2 separate regions of the Homo sapiens genome follow, and region 2 is linked to region 1. The links are contacts of gene promoters, found by promoter capture Hi-C in human tissues and cell types (Jung and others, 2019). All regions are on one chromosome and are shown on one strand. The core of a region is centred on a gene start or on the middle of the fragment in contact, and the rest is flanking DNA. Distances in the headings are between cores, read along the strand shown. Region 1 holds the start of GPD2 (glycerol-3-phosphate dehydrogenase 2). Region 2 has its middle 550 kb from the start of LINC01876.

Region 1 (3,817 bases), core at 325-2,824:
GGGTAGCTCAGCCCCAGCCCCAGAGTCTATGAATCAGGTCACTGGAGTACAGTTTCTGTCAAGTTCTCAGGTGATGCTGATGCTGCGGGCTCCAGTGACTACACTTTTAGAGCCAGTTTTAAAATACAAGGACTTGCAGATCCCACGTCCAGACTGACTCATTGGACTTGGGGATGGAAATCTGGCATTCCACCCCTCCCTGCCCCCTCCCCCCAATTTTAATGTGTCCAAGGGTGAGAATCATTGCTCCTCTGTGGACTATGGATGGTTCCCTGAAGTTACTGAGTTTGGGATTTAATAAATATATGCATTCCTCTGGGTCAACTACAGGAATTCTGCGGTATTTAAGGACATTAAATGAGTGACTTAATACTTTATTTAAAAAAATACCACTGCTTTTTGGTTCACACTAATTTTCTTCCTTCTTTTGGAAAGGCATTTCCGTCCATCTCCTGGATATTTTCCAATACCACGATAGAAAGGTTATTAGTACAGCACCCAGAGGTCTTCGGAGCAAAGCTGTTAAAGAAGTGGGGTCCATTTGAGCCCCAACTTTGCCTTCCTTAGGTCCCCTTGGGCTTGTCTAGCCCTAGGAGTTCCAACAAGTAAGCTGGGCATGCTCAGTGGGCAGGGTCGTTTTTTTTTTTTGGGTGGCGGGGGGTTGCAAGTGGGAAGCCTGCTGTTCAGCTGCCGGGGCTCTCCGCCTCCCCCCACCTGTATGAGGCTGGGTCTGGGGAACCTGTGCTCAGCATTCCACCCCCTGGAGCTTGGGCTTGGTCTTCCCTGCGGGTCCCTGCGCTGACATTCAGGCGGGGAGCCAGGAGGCCTGGCGCGCCTCCAGAGCCCGCCGGGGGAGCCGGGCGAGGGTTCTGGGCTCTGACGGCGGGGTCGCAGGGTCGCCCGCCTCCTGGACACGTCTGTAGGCCTAGGGAAGCCTGCCGGCCGGGAGGTACAGAGTAGGAGAAGCCAGATCCCAGGGCGGACAACGAGAAGTCGTCAGGTAAGCCAGCCCCGCCAGCGTGCCGGCGGACGAGTGTCTCCTCTCCCGCAGGCAGATGGCCAGGGCGGCCCGCATGGGCGAGGGCACAGGAAATCGGACACCGCCACCGTCTTCCCCAGCCTGGCCTAGCTCAGGCTTTCCAGTCCGCCAGCCCGCTGGCAAGGCGGGGCGGAGGTCTGGAGTCCGGCATCGCCGAGGCACAAAGCAGGAACTGCAGCCAGGGGCGAGGGCCCTTGCGTGTGGCGCTGCGCGACCCCACCCGGCGGCAGGACCCGCGTCCCCGTCTAGTCACGTTCATTGGGCCACGGAGACCACCTCGCTCGCCGCCCGCTGTTGGCTTTTCCCTCCCACACCCCCGCCAACCCCGGCCCCGGTTCCCGCCCCCACTTCCGCGTTTCCCCGCTGGGCCGGAGGAGCCTGGGCCCGAGGTATCCGGGCAGGAGGTGGCGGCCTCGCCGCCCTGGTCAGGCCTCCGGGAGGGAGCAGGCGCGGGAGCGGGAGGAGGAAGTCGGGAAGAGGGAAGGCGGGGGCGCGGCCCGCCCGGCGCTCGAGTTACACCCGCCCAGCCCGCCTCGAGTGACAGCCCCGCGCGCCTCGCTGGGAGCACCCGGGCCGAGGCTCTGATTCTGGGGGGAGGCCGACTCCACCCTGGCTGGAGGAACTGGGTGCTCCTGCCCGCTGGCCCCTCGCGCGTGAGGATCTATCTCAGGTGTGTGCTTCCTGGGAGACCCCTTCCCCCGCCTCTAGTATTCTAGGGGGGGAGTGGTCCCTTTCTGACCCGGGCGAGTGTTCTGGGACTCCAGTCTTGGCGGTAGGTGGTGGCGGGAAACGGGAAAGATTTAGAATTTCTTCCCACCAGCAGAAGATGGATTCGCTCTTCTCTAGGGTTTCGTTGTTTATGTTTTGGAGGCGGCATTTGTAAAATAGTAAAGTGGCAGGACTTTTGGGGCGAGGGTTGGTACCCCATTGAAAGTTCATGCAAACTTTTAGCTTGTAGATGCGGCTAGTCTGATAAGGATTGTTGCTCCCTTCCGAAGCAAGAGTGAGAACGAGTCTGGAGGAGGGCTGAGGCTTCTTTGAGAAACTCAGCTGCTGGCGTGTGACCGTCCTAGGAGGAAATGGAAGGTGCACACTGATAACTTAAAACAGCCTCCACTCCCTATGTAGTAACTTCTACCAGCAAAAATAGATTTGCAAAGAGTGCTTTGGCAGGAAGGTGTAGCTGGGTGAATGAAGTGCTGCTCTTAGCAGATGGTCTCTAGTCTGGCTTCCACCTTGTGCAGTGGAATATTCACTCCCAGAAGAGTTCCAGAGTAATTTACAAACACAAATTCTTGCAAAGTGTTAGTGACATGGGCAACCCAAATCACACACAACACATTATAAATATCATAGGAGGCAGCTATAGAAATAGCAGCTAGTCAACTTATACTTGTATAAATAGGTGAGGGAAGGAAGTTAGTAAGTGACAGGGAGTCTTTATTGCTAAAACAAAACTGTTAGTATTTTGCATGTGTTCCAAGTTTAAAGAGATGTGAAGTTTCTTTTTGGCGTGTGGACGGTGCTGGCAGCTGTCACACTGGGCCCAGGCACTTCTTCGTAGCTACTGACCACTCTAGTCCCAGTCCTACAGTTCTTGCTGGCTACCACATGACATCTGGATGCCATTGCCCAATGGAGACCGTGTGCAGTCTGGGGAACCTTGTGATGTGGATGTTGAAACCCCCCTCTGTTTCTCACAGGGGCGTTATGTCAAATTACAACACTCCCTTGACTTTTACAAATCAACTCGTGAAATAATACAGCAATATTTTAATGAATAAATGGGTAAATATGGGGTTTTGGGTTTGAGAACCAACAATGGATTCATTGCAACTGTCCATTCTCATAGCTTATAGAGTCACTTTATTTTATAAAGAAATTCTAAACAGCATTAGAGCTCTGCTTCCTTCTTTCTCCCTTGTGATTCATTCAAAGATGCAATGGCTTGGTTCAGGAATTGACAAAAGGGCCACAGTGTTACCAATTGTTAGTGAGTGTTACCACCCCCTTTAGTTTTTTTTGTAACTATTTAATCTCATTGTAGATATTTTAAAAGATTTGATGATTATTGTGCATAACTCATGTTGGCAAACTATTATAACTCTGAACTTATCCTGTTTGGTTGTTTTCTTTCATCTCTAGCGTGTAAGTTCTATGAGAGTAGCAGGGCTTGTTCTGTCTTGCATACTTTCAAAACTCTAATGCCTGGAGTGGTGACTAGCTTGTAATACACCCTCAATAAATGTTTTCTCAATGAGTGACCTCCAATGCCTAGAGGGGTGACTAGCTTGTAATACACCCTCAATAAATGTTTTCTCAATGAGCGACTGAACTGTGGAACAAACTCCAGCTGAGGGTAGTTGTGGAGCGGGGAGCCAAAGACTTTGGCCTTAGGTCATCTTTTAAAACTCAGCCTCAATTGTCTCATTGGCAAAATATGGATAATAAATGCTATGACGTGTGTAAAATTGCTAGCAATGTACCTGGCAAGTAGTAGACTTCAAAAGACTAGCTTCCATCCTATATTTTTCCTTCTTATACTCAAGTAGGAAAATATGGGCAAAGAATGTAGTTAGCTTGAAAATTTGGGCAAAGAATTCTTGCATGTTGTGCATGAATTATCCGTACATTTTTTTCGGTTAGTTGAGTGTGTTGGGATGGGGAGAGGAGAGGCGAGTTAGTGGTAGCTATGGTTATTAGAGAAGGGAAGCAATTTTCAGATCAGTATCTAATTTCTCAGTTTTAGTTTTTGAATGTGATGATGTTTCTGTTTAG
Region 2 (3,589 bases), core at 217-2,716, 730 kb before region 1:
ATCACTTATTTGAAATATAATAGGTTCATGAGCACCTGCCTTTCAAACCCTAGGCTCTGTAAAACAGTATTTCATGCGATCCTCTAATTACCCAAGGAGGTATATACTATTATCATATTTTTGTGGTTAAGTAATTCAAGACTCAAAGATGTTAAGAGACTTGTCCAAGGTCATACAGCTGAACATAGTGGAGCTTGGATTTGTCTGTTTTAAAGGAGGCATTAAATCTCTTTAGAACTTGACTTATTTTTGAAAAATGAGTACTATTACTTCTCTAAATGTATATAGTATATTTCTATAATCTTCATATTTCCAATGAGTTAGTCAACTGTTAAGAAATAGAAAATTTGTGAAAATACTATAGCAAAGAAAGACTAACCTGACTCAGTCAATTAGTAATTTGTATCTTTTGTCTCCAGACTCCTATCTTCCTGAACACATTGTCAGTGGTCATACAAGACTGCATTTTAATTTAGATACAAAGACATAAAAATTGGATTTCAGAGAATAGACATATTTTGCTATTTACTTCTGTGGTGACAGACATAATTCCTGTCAGTCAGTCATCTAACTTCAACTAACCTCTGTCATTCCCCTCACCACTAAGGGGCAATACAGCAGCACACATGTCACTGTAATTAGCATGCAGCAGCAACTTTCATTAGACCAATGATCTCCAATAAGATTTTCCCAAGGGCTGCATTCAGTTATGTGTAATCGTTAGGCGGGCCACACATGTATTAGCATATAATTTGCACATGATTTGCATATGCATTTAAAGATTGCATCCTATTTCTCTGGATATTTCTAGTAAAAATGTAATTACTACAACATTGAAGGTTGTGATTTCTCTTTCTCTGCACTATCCCACCACATCTGACTCATGTCTCGTGACAGAATAGTTCAGCAGAAAACCAGGAAAAGCCAGCAGGGAGGAAATAGTCAGTAGAGATGGTTAGGGTCAATAGAAATCTTTTTGGGGGCACTAATGATGAGAACTGAGAGTATATTGCATTAGACAGTTTGTCTCTTTTATAAGGATAAAGGAATAAATGCCCACTGGGTGGACCTTCTAAGAAATGTCTTTATAGTTACTGCTGATATCTTGTTGAGCATCTTTTTTTCAAACCTCATTACAGGCTAAACAGCAAATTATCTATTATCACTTGGGAAATCTCAGTTACCTCTTAATTCTAATAGTGTAGTCACATAACAACTTTAACTGAGTTTTCTACTAAACCTAATTACTCTCTGTTTTGAGCACTAATTTTAAGTGGAGAGCTCTCTATTTCCTTTAGTATTTTTTAATTCATATGGACCAGTCCCACACACTTGGAGATCATACCCACTCCCAATTAAAGAGCTTCCTGGTGCATTCATATTTGGTTAGGTAAAGGAAAAGTTACAAGGAAGCGCACATGATTGGTATAGGACAAAATTAGTAAAAATTGGGAATAAGTACACATGCATAGACACAGACATTCTCACACATTTTTAAATACATATATGTTCTTATGTTTGTGAAAAAAAATTATTTTCTCCCTCTCTGACTTCTTCTGCAATCAATTCAAAATCTACATTTGTTTATCTGGGAAAATGTTCTTACTGCTAATTAGATAGAGTTAGATAATACATAGATAATAGCTAGATGACAGAGAGGATCATAAAAATTCTGGTGGTTGTAGACTGAAGACATATAACTACTAGAAAAAAAGTAGTATAGTCCTATTTCCTCTATATGTTTCACCAGTGTTCTATTTATGCTTTGTTATTTCAGATGGTCAGAACCACGTAAGAAAATTGTTAAAAGCAGAATTTCCCTTACCTACTCTGGTGTTCTTTGAACTTCTAGGGCCAGGCCAGGAATCAGTAGAATGCTTTCAAATAAGGTCACACAATTTTTGGATGATAGAGCCAGGACTTGAATCAATACTTGTATAATTCCCTATTCTACCTTTAAAGTCTTGATTTTATGATCTCATTTATGTGCATAGTGAACAGACATCATATTCTGTTTTGTGAGTAGAACAAAATTAAGCAATTCTCAGTACTTTGTTCTTGCAGTTCATGATAACAAAGGACGCACAGAACAGAACTCATCTGTTGGCCAAACACTTAGTTAACATCCTCAACAGTGACTTAATAGAAGATGAAAAGATACATTTTTTCCTGCATCTTCTTCTAGTCAACCAGTTCTTTTGTCCCAAATTCTAGTATGATTTGGCACTATCAGCAACACATATCTTTGGTTTACCCATTGTATCCCTGGAAAGTGAATGTATCTGTAATATAATAAATTATCTGTAAGCAATTTTTTATTGGATAAACAAGTATGAATGTATAACTGTTACACAAATTGTTTATAACATAGGAAGCAGTTCATGATGTATTAAGTAAAAATGTAGGCTACAAAGTTTTTTCTTAATAGTTTGATCCCATTTTGGGGTAAGGAAGACAGAGGGACACATATTAATGAAATTATAGTTCATTGATAGTGTGGAATTATGGTTTCTTTTTCATAAGTTTGTCTTATTTTTTTAAATGTATATTTTTATAATAAAAACAAAAATGTTGTACGTTTGTTTTTGTTTTATTTTAAATATAGTGGCCCCTTCTACTACATCTTGGTAGGACTTTATGGAACACAGTTGGAAAACCCACATTATAATTAACGATCCAGGGTTCCAATATGAAATGTGGGCTTAAGTTTCTTACTTAACAGCCCCATCTCCTTATTCAATTTACTTTTTGGTGTTATTTATGTAAAAATCTGCCTCTTTCTTTAAACTGAAACTGTCTTAAGACCAAAAGCACATATTATTTATTTCTGTGGTCATCTCATCCTGATGCCAACCCTAGTAATAAGCTCATATGTAGCCTGCACCCAAAAGATATTTACAAAAATTTGTTCAATAGCTTAATTAAAACAGTAAGCGCCACAAAATTATATAGCTTACTAGTGAGTATATAATATAAGCACCCTTTTTGAAAATAAATCTGAAATTTAAAGAAACTTGGTAGCCTAATTTCTTAATGAACTCTATTGCCATTGGTCATGTCACTTCATAAATAAAAGTCGTTGATCACAAGGAAAACCAGACTAGAGCACCATCAATCATGTCTATTGGGGAAAAACAAAACACTTCAAGTAATATGTTTATGGTTCATTCTGTTCCTGATCACAAATAAATCATTAATTCAAAACTCCTGAAAGTAGTCATTTACCTAACCACAAAAGCTAAAGAGTAGGAAAAAAATTGTAATGCAAGAAAAATATGTAAGTAAGCTTGAAATCATGAAAGAAGTGAAAGTATGGGAAAATCTCACCAAGTCTAAAGAACTTCTATATTTTTAACTTTAGGTTGAGGAATATCTCCATTGATTTCTTTTTCATAAAGAATGAATACTTGGGCTCAATGGCAAGGAAATTAGAATTATAATAACTTTTTTATATCAGAGCTAAACCCTACATAGTTTCATCCCACCCAAAATGATCCTTTTCAGGATAATCCATTAACTGAGGTTTCCCATTCCAATTTACTATTGTTTTTCTCCTAGAGTACTGCCTAAACTGCATAATTTGATAAGA

What was found. The method cuts DNA at HindIII sites, captures the fragments that hold promoters and counts their contacts. A contact is called where the count stands out against the background at its distance.
Region 2: a contact is called between a fragment that was not itself captured here and the fragment with the promoter of GPD2 in region 1, in 1 of the 25 tissues and cell types used here (hippocampus).

The regions. Positions count from the first base shown.
Region 1 is chr2:156,434,805-156,438,621 of GRCh38, forward strand. It overlaps GPD2 (glycerol-3-phosphate dehydrogenase 2), which reads left to right and starts at 1,575. Exons shown (of 17, transcript NM_000408.5): 1 at 1,575-1,709. RefSeq lists silencers at 677-846, 1,287-1,696 and an enhancer at 1,087-1,136. The HindIII fragment of the contact is 7,799 bases long and covers 1-3,817 here.
Region 2 is chr2:155,707,638-155,711,226 of GRCh38, forward strand. No RefSeq gene overlaps it. Among named protein-coding and RNA genes, the nearest start is that of LINC01876, 550 kb to the right of the region's middle. The HindIII fragment of the contact is 5,969 bases long and covers 1-3,589 here.